Regions from separate parts of the Homo sapiens genome. Here region 2 is linked to region 1. The links are contacts of gene promoters, found by promoter capture Hi-C in human tissues and cell types (Jung and others, 2019). All regions are on one chromosome and are shown on one strand. Each heading gives the region's core, a stretch centred on a gene start or on the middle of the fragment in contact. The rest is flanking DNA. Distances are from core to core; before and after follow the strand shown. Region 1 holds the start of VNN1 (vanin 1). Region 2 has its middle 12 kb from the start of TAAR2.

Region 1 (6,478 bases), core at 1,002-3,501:
TCTTGGTGTGAGCATGGGAAAAATGACTGCCAAGCTCTTTATGAGTTGGACTAGAAACTCCACGGGAGGTTTAATATTTTTAATCTAAGAAGGTCAAGAAGTAATTTTTTAACCTCTTGCCAACTCATCTCAGTTTTAACTTTTATTTCAGTGCTTCCTTTTACAAATTGTTACATAATAATGACATCTTTTTGTGAAATATGTGGTATTCCCACCCACCTGGGCATGGAAAGGCCCTAAGAGGTCAGCAAGCAGTTAGAGAAGCTGGTGTTTACCGGAAACTCAGGAGAACCAGCCAACCACAACCCCTGGGTTACCTTGGCAATTGCAGAATAAATGCATTATAGTTACTAAAGTAAAAAATTAGATATGCCTGTTTGCAGATTGAACTATAAAAATACCATTCAAAGACAAATAGATCTAAAAATAAAATGGAAAAACATAAACACTAATTCTGTAAATATTATACTTAATGCACAACTGAAACAAAATTTGCCAGCTTACTCAATATCAAAATCTATGAACAGTTTTTCTATTTTATATAATTTCCCTCTCCTCTCTCTGGATCTCGCTCCCCAGCTCATTTTTTCTTTTTTTTGCTCTGATTCTTTATACACCTCTGTTGCCTCTGTGATAAGCAGCTTCAAAGATGGTTCCTAATGCTTTATTGGATAGAATACAACAAAAGCGATGAGGTGTTGCTTCCCCAATTACATTACGAAGCATCCGTGGCTTCCATCTCCAGTGGGTTCACTTGCTGTCTGGCTCTAAGGGAATCCAGATACCATAATGCGGGCTGCCCTATGGTGAGGTTTGCATCACTAGGAACTCATGTCTCTGGGCAACAACCAATGAGGTCTTGATCCCTGCCGTCAGCCACATGAGGGAGCTTGGAGCTCGGAAGTGAATCCTCCTGGAGTCAAGCCTTGATATAGCTAGCCCTGGCAGCTGCTTGACTGCAGCCTTGTGAAAGAGACCTTGGGCCAGAGGCACCAGCTAAACTGCCCCTGGATTCCTGACCCAGAGAAAGTGGGAGATGATGTATTTTTGCTTTTTGAAGCTGCTGAATTTGGGGATAATTTGTTATATAGCAATAGAAAATGAGTAACTCTTTTGTATTCCTCTTTGTCCTGGCTTCCCCATTTTGAGGAAAATAAAGTAAATCAAAGTGTAGAGCTGAAATATTCACATGAAAATAATAATAAAGTTTTAAAATTATTTGAATGTCTTGTGTTGACATTCCAAAATATATGAATTCCAAAAATTTATATGTTGAAGTCCTAACTGTCAGTATCTTAGAATGTAACTTTTTTGGAAAAGGGGTCATTTCAGATCTAATTAGTTAAGATGAAGTTATACTGGAGTACAGTGGGCACTAAATCGAATTGGTCCTATGATTGAGTCTCAGTCTTTCAGTGAGCCTGTACCCCTGGGTTTATGACCTTCAGTTGGCTTTTTTCTTCTGCCCTTATTTGGCATAAAAACAAAGCAGGTGGATCACCTGAGGTCAGCAATTTGAGACCAGCCTGCCCAACACGGCGAAACCCTATCTCTACTAAAAATACAAAAAATTAGCCTGGCGTGGTGGCGGGCGCCTGTAATCCCAGCTACTTGGGAGGCTGAGGCAGGAGAATCACATGAACCCGAGAGGCGGAGGTTGCAGTGAGCCGAGATTTCGCCACTGCACTCTAGCCTGGGTGACAAGAGTGAAACTCCATCTCAAACAACAACAACAATAAACAAACAACAACGATGACAAAAAAAGCTAGAGCTGGGATTTTCCCTTTCCCTGTGTTAAAGATTAGAGTGGTGTCCTCACAAAAAGGGAAAACTTGGATACAGGCACACACATGGGGAGAATAGCATATGAAGAGACACAGGGAGAAGGCAGCCATCTATGGGTCAAGGAGAGAGGCCTGGAACACATCTTTCCTTCACCGCCCTCAGGAGGAACCAACTCTGCTGACACCTTCATCTGGGACTCCCACCCTCCAGAACTGCAAAGCAATAAATTTTTTATTTTTTACACCACCCAGTTTATTGTATTTTGTTAGGCAGCCCTAGCGAACTAATGTACATAGAGTTCTTGAGTTAATCTTCACAAATTACTGCAATAAGGTAGGGTCTTTTGTTATGTAACAATGCTATGAAATCATAGCGTTTTCTTAATTAACTTCCGTAGTTTAAGGTACTAAGTTCTGGACACCACGTGTCTTCTTTCTATAAATACCAGGACATGCTCTGTTTTTCAGCACTCATTGGACTTCAGCATGACTACTCAGTTGCCAGCTTACGTGGCAATTTTGCTTTTCTATGTCTCAAGAGCCAGCTGCCAGGACACTTTCACTGCAGCTGTTTATGAGCATGCAGCGATATTGCCCAATGCCACCCTAACACCAGTGTCTCGTGAGGAGGCTTTGGCATTAATGAATCGGAATCTGGACATTTTGGAAGGAGCGATCACATCAGCAGCAGATCAGGTACCATCTCTACCATCTCTCCAGTGTACTGGATTCTATGAGAAAGGAGGGGGTCCTAGGAGACAGGGCCACTGTCAGGGTCAGTTACACTTTTAGATGATATATGTATCAGAGTAGCCAAGAACCTTTATTTTACAGTTAGAATTCTACTTTCCTCTCAAAATTAGAGCAAGGACTTCCCTAAAAGTAAGAACAAAGTTAAGAAAAGAACAATTTGCTCATTATCAAGAAGCAGCAGACCTTTGAGGAACTGGCCATAAATTCAACATCTTTGTTCCCCTTTTCTGGTACAGATGGAGGATGGAGGATAAATGGGTCAGGGACTAGGTGCTATTTTCAGAGTATTAGTGGCCTTCATGTACTCATGTGCTATTAAGGCTTTGCAGGTTTTCGAATAAATTTATAATCTGAAAACAAATTTAAGTTTTCAATTCCTTGCCAGCATGCATTATATACTTCACACTTCATTCTAATTACAAGATAAAAGTATATGTAATGCATTGTGAGTCCTTAAGTTTAGTGAAGGTTTCAGTTTGAAGTTAATCATACAGTATAAATTGTGGTTTACACAAATATTATTTTAAAAGCTATTGATCGATTAGGTGTAGACCAGGAATACATGAAGTGTGATAAAAGTCATGGATAAATGTGTATTACATATATCTATAAATATATATTCTTTTGTGTTGTTGAGTTAAGGTCTCACTCTGTCACCCAGGATGGAGTATAGTGGTGTGATCACGTCTCACTGCAGCCTTGACTTCCCGGGCTCAGGTGATTCTCCCACTACAGTCTCCAGAGTAGCTGGGACCACAGATGCATGCCACCGTGCCCAGCTAAGTTTTGTATTTTTTGTAGAGATGGGATTTTGCCATGTTGCCCACGCTGTACTTGAACTCCTGACCTCAGGTGATCCACCTGCCTTGGGCTCCCAAAGTGCTGGGATTACAGGCATGAGCTACCGTGACTGCCCTATATTCTTATATATACTAATATTTAAAAGGTTATCAGGAGTTCTGATGTTCTTTTTCATCCTTAGTCCAACTATTTCCTTGAAGGTCACAGAGCTTTTTAAGGTGACTCTCTAATTGGAAGGTGCCCAGGTTAGCTCAGGCAGTACTTGTAGGCATGGGACAGTTCAAGTAACCAGTTTGTGGCTCCTCTTTTTCTGAGAAGCAGGAATCATGTTTGCAGGGGAAAGCTAGGGCAGAGGAGGAAATAAACAGAATATTTAAGTTATTAATCAGTCTTGACACAGGCACAGTCATCAGCGAAAGTTCAAGGAGAGGCTTGGTTCCAGGATAAGCTAGGTTTATAGTTAACGACTGCCATAGGAAACAACAATGGCAGGATTAGAAAATTAAAATGCTTGACTAAGCCAGGTGCGGTGGCTCATGTCTGTAATTCCAACACTTTGGGAGGCTGAAGCAGGCGGATCACCTGAGGTTGGGAGTTCAAGACCATCCTGACCAATATGGAGAAACCCCATCTCTACTAAAAATACAAAAATTAGCCAGGCGTGGTGGCAGATGCCTGTGATCCTAGCTACTTATGAGGCTGAGGCGGGAGAATCGCTTGAACCCGGGAGGTGGAGATTGTGGTAAGCCGAGATCTAGCCATTGCACTCCAGCCTGGGCAGCAGAGCGAAACTCCATCTGAAAAAAAAAAAAAAGAGAGAAAAAAAAATGCTTGACTAGAAGCCCAAACCTCACCATTATGTAACATATCCATGCAACAAACCTGCATTTGTACCCTTTGAATCTAAAATTAGAAATAAAGAAAAGAAAAGAAAAAGAAAAAGAAGTGACAGTGCACTGAAAAAAAAGGAAATTAAAATGCTTTGGAAAAGAAAATAAATTATAAAAATATAGAAAACAAAATAAGATTTAAGGGGTGTGGGGGAAGCCCAAATAGTTGTTACTCAGCCACTCAGCTCCTCAGCTCCTCTTGCAGGCCCCCCTTTGGATTAAGTTGCATTTTTAACAGGGTGCGCATATTATTGTGACTCCAGAAGATGCTATTTATGGCTGGAACTTCAACAGGGACTCTCTCTACCCATATTTGGAGGACATCCCAGACCCTGAAGTAAACTGGATCCCCTGTAATAATCGTAACAGGTAAAGAAACAACTTGTGAAAAATTCACTAGTAAACATCAACTTGATTTACCTGGGAAAACTTTGTTGATGATCATTGCATAGATCCATGATCAATTCTTAAGTTTCAGTATAGCTTATTTTTCATCTACTATGGGTATATTTACTGGGAGAGCAAATATGAATTATGAAGTCACAGAAGTCAGAGCTAGAAAGTAGCTTAGAAATCATCACATTCAGTGTGAACATCTCTGGTCTCTGACTCCTCACCAGTGAACAGAAAAATATTTCCCTGTGTAGGTCTGTGATTTGAAAACTATATGAGTAAATGGCAAAAGAGAGTCACATCAGTTTAAGATTAATAGTTTTCCTTTCTCATTGCTAAGATAGCTGATGAGGTTAATGTAGTAAAGTCCTTAAAGTGTAAGCTGATTGTAATCTAAGAGGTGATATGGCAGGATTTTAAGTGGTTTAAGTCAGGTCTCGGCTACAGAGATATTAAGTGTGGTGAAAGCAGCACTATTAATTTTAATGTAAGGAAACCAATATCTTATACACCTAAGAAAATCATGTCGATTCACATACTTCTTTCTGAATACACATGGCTAAAATTATTTTAGGAATTCCTCTTTTGGAACTATTCTCAAAACCGCACAACGCCAGTTAGAATGGTGATCATTAAAAAGTCAGGAAACAACAGATGCTGGAGAGGATGTGGAGAAAGGGGAACTCTTTTACACTGTTGGTGGGAGTATAAATTAGTTCAACCATTGTGGAAGACAGTGTGGTGATTCCTCAAGGATCTAGAACCAGAAATACCATTTGACCCACCAATCCCATTACTGGGTATATACCAAAGGATCATAAATCATTTTACTATAAAGACACATGCATGCATATGTTTATTGCAGCACTGTTCACAATAGCAAAGACTTGGAACCAACCCAAATACCCATCAATGGTAGACTGGATAAAGAAAATGTGGCACATATATACCACAGAACACTACACAGCTGTAAAAAAGGATAAGTTCATGTCCTTTGCAGGGACATGGATAAAGCTGGAAACCATCATTCTCAGCAAACTAACACAGGAACAGAAAACAAAACACTGCATGTTCTCGCTCATAAGTGGGAGTTGAACAACGAGAATACATGGACACAAGGAGGGGAACATCACACACCGGGGCCTGTCGGGGAGTCGGGGGCTAAGGGAGGGATGGCATTAGGAGAAATACCTAATGTAGATGATGGGTTGGTGGGTGCAGCAAACCACCATGGCACGTGTATACCTATGTAACAAGCCTGCATGTTCTGCACATGTATCTCAGAACTTAAAGTATAATAATAATAATACTAAAATTAAAAATCCCACAGAAACTGGCTGGGTGTGGTGACTCATGCCTGTAATTCCAACACTTTGGGAGGCCGAGGCAGGAGGATCACCTGAGGTCAGGAGTTTGAGACCAGCCTGGCCAATTTGGCAAAACCCCATCTCTACTAAAAATACAAAAATTAGTGGGGCGTGGTGGTGGGCACCTATAATCCCAGCTACTTGGAAGGCTGAGGCAGGGAGAACTGCTTGAACCTGGGAGGCAGAGGTTGCAGTGAGCCAAGAGAGTGACACTGCACTCCAGCCTGGGTAACAGAGCTAGACTCTGTCTCAAAAACAAACAAACAAACAAACCCACAAAAACTACTTACAGAGACACCTTGATTTTGACAAGGTGGATTTTGATAAATTCCAGTGTTATTTATCATAATCATTTACTCTATTCTTATTTAATTGTACCATAATTATTTCTTATTTAATCATGTCATATGTCAGTGCTTCAGTTTCTAAAAGGCAAGCACTCTATTATCACTTCCACTATGAATTGAATTGACTTATTTCTGAATGGCCT
Region 2 (6,478 bases), core at 2,543-5,042, 78 kb after region 1:
GTGGTTTTCTAAATATACATTCATGTCACCTGCAAACAGAGACAATCTGACTTCCTGTCTTCCTATTTGAATACCTTTATCTCTTTGTCTTGCCTAATTGCCCTGGTCAGAACTTCCTATACTACGTAGAATAGGAGAGTTGAGAGAGTGCATCCTTGTCTTGTGCCGGTTTTCAAAGGGAATGCTTCCAGCTTTTGTCCATTCAGTATGATATTGGTTGTGGGTTTGTCATAAATAGCTCTTATTATTTTGAGATATGTTCCATCAATACTTAGTTTATTGAGTGTTTTTAGCATGAAGGGTGTTTAATTTTATTGAAGGCCTTTTCTGCATCTATTGAGATAATCATGTGGTTTCTGTCATTGTTTCTGTTTATGTGATGGATTACATTTATTGATTTGTGTATGTTGAAATAGCCTTGTACCCAAGGGACAAAGCTGACTTGATTGCGGTGGATAAGCTTTTTGATATGCTGCTGGATTCGGTTTGGCAGTATTTTGTTGAGGATTTTTGCATCAATGTTCATCAGGGATATTGGCCTGAAATTTTCTTTTTCTTGTTGCGTCTCTGGCATGTTTTGGTATCAGGATGATGCTGGCTTCATAAAATGAGTTAGAGAGGAATCCATCTTTTTCTATTATTTGGAATAGTTTCAGAAGGAATCATACCAGCTACTCTTTGTACCTCTGGTAAAATTCGGCTGTGAATCCATCTGGTCCTGGGCTTTTTGTTTGTTTGTTTGTTTTGGTTGGTAGGCTATTAATTACTCCCTCAGTTTCAGAACTTGTTATTGGTCTATTCAGGGATTCAACTTCTTCCCGGTTTACTCTTGGGAGAGTGTATATGTCCAGGAATTTATCCATTTCTTCTAGATTTTCTAGATTTGTGTGTGTGTGTGTGTGTGTGTGTGTGTGTGTGTGTAGGGTTGTTTATAGTATTCTCTGATGGTAGCTTGTATTTCTGTGGGATCAGTGGTGATATCCCCCTTATCATTTTTTATTGTGTCTATTTGATTATTATCTCTTTTCTTCTTTATTAGTCTGGCTAGCGGTCTATTTTGTTAATCTTTTCAAAAAACCAACTCCTGGGTGCATTGATTTTTTGAAGGATTTTTGTCTCTATCTCCTTCACTTCTGTTCTAATCTTAGTTATTTCTCCTCTTCTGCTAGCTTTTGAATTTGTTTACTCTTGCTTCTCTAGTTCTTTTAATTGTGATGTTAGGGTGTCGATTTTAGATCTTTCTTGCTTTCTCTTGTGGGCATTTAGTGCTTTAAATTTCCCTCTAAACACTGCTTTAGTTGTGTCCCAGAGATTCTAGTACGTTGTGTCTTTGTTCTCATTGGTTTCAAATAACTTATTTATTTCTGCCTTAATTTTGTTATTTACCCAGTAGTCTTTCAAGGAGAAGGTTGTTCAGTTTCCATATAGTTGTGTGGTTTTGAGTGAGTTTCTTAATCCTGAGTTCTAATTTCATTGCACTGTGGTCTGAGAGACTGTTTGTTTTGATTTCCGTTCCTTTGCATTTGCTGAGGAGTGTTTTACTTCAAATTATGTGGTTGATTTTAGAATAAGTGCTATGTGGTGCTGAGAAGAATGTATATTCTGTTGATTTGGGGTGGAGAGTTCTGTAGATGTCTATTAGGTCTGCTTGGTCCAGAGCTGAGTTCAAGTCCTGAATATCCTTGGTAATTTTCTGTCTTGTTGATGTGTGTCTAATATTGACAGTGGGGTGTTAGAGTCTCCCACTATTATTGTGTGGGAGTCTAAGTTTCTTTGTAGGTCTCTAAGAACTTGCTTTTTGAATCTGGATGCTCCTGTATTGGGTGCACATATATTTAGGATAGGTAGCTCTTCTTGTTGTATTGACTCCTTTACCATAAGGTAATGCCCTTCTTTGTCTCTTTTGATCTTTGTTCATTTAAAGTCTGTTTCATCAGAGACTAGAATTGCAATTCCTACCTTTTTTTGCTTTTCATTTGCTTGGTAAGTCTTCTTCAATGACTTTATTTTGAGCCTATGTGTGTCTTTGCATGTGAGATGGGTCTCCTGAATACAGCATACCGATGGGTCTTGACTCTTTATCCAGTTAGCCACTCTGTGCCTTTTAATTGGGGCATTTAGCCCATTTACATTTAAGGTTAATATTGTTATGTTTGAATTTCATCCTGTCATTATGATGCTAGCTGGTTATTTTGCACATTAGTTGATGGAGTTTCCTCATAATGTCAATGGTCTTTACATTTTGGTTTGTTTTTGCAGTGGCTGGTACCCATTTTTCCTTTCCATATTTAGTTCTTCCTTCAGGAGCTCTTGTAAGGAAGGCCTGATGGGACAAAATCCCTCAGCATTTGCTTGTCTGTAAAGGATTTTATTTCTCCTTCACTTATGAAGCTTACTTTGGCTGGATATGAAATTCTGGGTTGAAAATTCTTTTCTTTAAGAATGTTGAATATTGACCCCACTCTCTTCTGGCTTGTAGGTTTTCTCAGAGAGATCCACTGTTAGTCTGACAGGCTTCCTTTTGGGGGTAACCCAAGCTTTCTCTCTGCCTGCCCTTAACATTTTTTCCTTCATTTCAATCTTGGTGAATCTGATGAGTATGTGACTTGGGGTTGCTCTTCTCGAGGAGAACCTTTGTGGTGTTCTCTGTATTTCCTGAATTTGAATGTTGGCCTGTCTTGCTAGGTTGGGGAAGTTCTCCTGCATAATATCCTGAAGTGTGTTTTCCAACTTGGTTCCATTCTCCCTGTCACTTTCAGGTACACCAATCAAATGTAGGTTTGGTCTTTTCACATAGTCCCATATTTCTTGGGAGCTTTATTCATTCCTTTTCATTCTTTTTCTCTAATCTTGTTTTTACACTTTATATCATTAAGTTGATCTTCAATCTCTGATATCCTTTCTTCTGCTTGATCGATTCGGCTATTGATACTTGTGTATGCTTCACGAAGTTCTCATGCTGTGCTTTTCAGCTCCATCAGGTTATTTATGTTCTTCTCTAAATTGGTTATTCTAGTTAGCAATTCCTCTAACCTTTTATCAAGGCTCTTAGCTTCCTTGCATTGGGTTAAAACATGCTCCTTTAGCTCAGAGGAGTTTGTTATTACCCACCTTCTGAAGCCTACTTCTGTCAGTTCGTCAAACTCATTCTTTGTCCAGTTATGTTCCCTTGCTGGTAAGGAGTTGTGATCCTTCGGAAGAGAAGAGCATTCTGGTTTTTGAAATGTTCAGCCTTTTTGCACCGGCTTTTCCTCATCTTCATGGATTTATTTACCTTTGGTCTTTGCTGTTGGTGACCTTTGGATGGAGTTTTTGCATGGTCATCCTTTTTGTTGATGTTGATGCTATTGCTTTCTGTTTTTCATTCTAAGAGTCAGGCACCTCTACTGCTGATCTGCTGGAGTTTGCTGGGGGTCCACTCCAGACCCTGTTTGCCTGGGTATCACCAGCCAAGGCTGCAGAACAGCAAAAATTGCTGCCTGCTCCTTCCTCTGGAAGGTTTGTCTCACAGGGGCACTTGCCAGATGTCAGCTGGAGCTCTCCTGTATGACGTGTCTCTCAACTCCTTCTGGGAGGAGTCTCCCAGACAGGAGGCATGGGGGTCAGGGACCCACTTGAGGAGGCCGTCTGTCCCTTAGCAGAGCTTGAGCACTGTGCTTGGAGATAAGCTGCTCTCTTCAGAGCTGGCAGGCAGGAACATTTAAGTCTGCTGAAGCTGCTCCCACAGCTGCCCCTTCCCCCAGGTGCTCTGTCCCAGGGAGATGGGAGTTTTATCTATAAGGCCCTGACTGAGGCTGCTGCCTTTCTTTCAGAGATGTCCTGCCCATAGAGGAGGAATCTAGAGAGGCAGTCTGGCTACAGCTACTTTTCTGTGCTGCAGTGGGCTGTGCTCAGTCCAAACTTCCAGGAGGCATTGTTTACACTGTGAGGGGAAAACAGCCTACTCAAGCCTCAGTAACGGTGGACGCCCCTCCCAACACCAAGCTCGAGTGTCCCAGGTTGACTGCAGACTGCTGTGCTGCCAGTGAGAATTTCAAGCCAGTGGATCTTAGCTTGCTGGGCTCCATGGGAGAGGGACCCTCTGAGCAAGACCACTTGACTCCCTGGCTTTATCCCCTTTTCCATGGGAGTGAATGGTTCTGTCTTGCTGGCATTCCAGGTGCCACTGGGATATGAAAAAAACTTCTGCAGCTAGCTCGGTGTCTGCCCAAATGGCCACCCAGTTTTGTGCTTGAAACCCTGGGACCTTGTGGTGTAGGTACCCAAGGGAATCTCCTGGTCTGTGGGTTGTGAAGACTGTGAAAAAAGTGTCGTATCTGAGCTGGATAGCTCTGTCCCTCATGGCACATTCCCTCAAGACTTTCCTTGGCTAGGGGAGGGAGTTCCCTAACCCCTTGCACTTCCCGGGTGAGGCAATGCCCCCACACTGCTTCTGCTCACCCCGTGGGCTGCACCCACTCTCTAACCATTCCCAGTGAGATGAACCAGTTACCTCAGTTAGAAATGCAGAAATCATCAGCCTTCTGCATTGGTCTCACTGGGAGCTTCAGACTGGAGCTGTTCCTATTTGGCCATCTTGTCCAGGAATCCCTCGGTATCCCTCTTAATAAATGTACAAGTCAGATAAGAAATCACAGAGATGCCAAACTCTAAAATTTGTTTTTTGATCAATGTTTTAACAATGTGATGTGGTAAAGTAGTATTTTTCAAGCCAGGCTGCTCCTAGGGAGATTTTAATTAATGAAAATATTCAAGCCCTCATTATCGAAGATGATCTGTGGTGAGAAGGGCAGGCTTGGGAGCTAGACGCCATGGGTCTGCATTTCTGACTCCAATATTTATCAGCTATTATTTGGACAAAGTTATTTAAAAATGCAAAACCTTCATTTACTCAGCTATAAAGTGAGGGCAATGATCTCACCTCCTTCAGTAGATTGTTGATTACTAGATGAGAAGTTATCGCCTAGCATGGATCTTAACATGTAAAATCCCTTGGTGAACATATATTATTAGTGGTATTCTCTGTCATTTTATTGGTGTATGCTATAGTGGTGTTTACTCAGCATATGCTATGGTACTGCACACAGAGATGTTAACATACACAGACATTACATGTCAGTTCTTTAAAAAACAAAAACTAGTGTGGAATCCCAGTATCCTCCTTCCTAACAAATTTTACAATTATAATTATGCAAAAAAGGATAGCAGAAGAAGATCTATTTCAAGCTTTATGCAAAAGGAAGTAACCTGGTGGCACATTTGTGCATAATCTGTGATATGTCAGTTATTTGAGAAACTGGGGGGATTTTATTTTGAAAAAATTTTATATAGCATGTATATATACACATAAGATAATTTATATAAGAAATTATTGGTATATGTATATATAATTATATAGCACATAATCTATAAATACATAAATTGTAAAGCTATAAAAGTAATTTATATTTTGATATCAATCTGCAAAACACCTATTATCCACCAATGTAATTAAGCTTCATGAGAACTCTGTGTAATCTCTGAAGCACACTAGTGTAGAGCACTCTGAATCACCCTGGCATATGGAGACAAGCTCAGGCTTTGGAACCACGTCAGCCGGGGTTAAAATCCCGGTTCTCTTTGTTGCTCCCATGCTTTCTGTCCTTTCTGTTTTTGCTCCTGCAGCCCTATATGCCTGAAATGCCTCCCCCAGGTCCCTCGCTGTAACTGGCTGACATCTACTCAACTGAAAAGGCTCATCTTGAGGATTACTCTCCAGGAAGCATTCTGTTATCCCCTCAGGCCAGGTAAGTGTCTCTCTGAACTCTCAAAATATCCCACGCCCATCCCTGTCAGTGCATGTATTGATTGTGGTGCCCTCTGCCCTCACTGGACAGTGAATTGCAGAAGCTAGGGACAGTGATTTATTAAGTACTGCTGTACTTAGCATCATGTTTGGCACAGAGAAAGTCACTCACTGTATGTTTTTTAGCTGGATAAATAATAAATAATAAGGTGTCCAAGGGGACACAATTAATAAATGTTAGAGGTAAGATTTGAGCCCAAGTCTGTCAGGCTATGTGTTAGTCCATTTTCACATGGCTAAAAAGAACTACCCAAGACTGGGTAATTCATAAAGAAAAGAGGTATAATTGACTCACAATTCCACATGGTTGGGGAGGCTTGGGAAAGTTATAATCATGGCGGAAGGGGAAGCAAACACATTCTTCTTCACAAGGTGGCAGAAGAGAAAGAGCGTATGTAGAAGGAACTATCAGACACTTATAAAACCATCAGATCTTAAGAGAACACACTCACCATCACGAGAACAGCATGGGGAACACAGCCACCATGATCCAATGACCTCCTACCCATTCTTTCCCTTGACACATGGGAATTATGGGGAATAACAATTTAAAATGAGATTTGCGTGGGGACACAAACCTAACCATATCGGGCTACAAACTCTACCCACTTTCCTGTCTCAGGAAGTAGGGTC

The links. Contacts are between HindIII fragments. The study calls those that stand out against the background at their distance.
Region 2: a contact is called between a fragment that was not itself captured here and the fragment with the promoter of VNN1 in region 1, in 4 of the 25 tissues and cell types used here (H1 embryonic stem cells, liver, mesenchymal stem cells and 1 more).

What each region holds. Positions count from the first base shown.
Region 1 is chr6:132,709,828-132,716,305 of GRCh38, reverse strand. It overlaps VNN1 (vanin 1), which reads left to right and starts at 2,251. Exons shown (of 7, transcript NM_004666.3): 1 at 2,251-2,480; 2 at 4,467-4,597. The coding sequence starts at 2,271. The HindIII fragment of the contact is 14,207 bases long and covers 1-6,478 here.
Region 2 is chr6:132,632,936-132,639,413 of GRCh38, reverse strand. No RefSeq gene overlaps it. Among named protein-coding and RNA genes, the nearest start is that of TAAR2, 12 kb to the right of the region's middle. The HindIII fragment of the contact is 4,731 bases long and covers 1,427-6,157 here.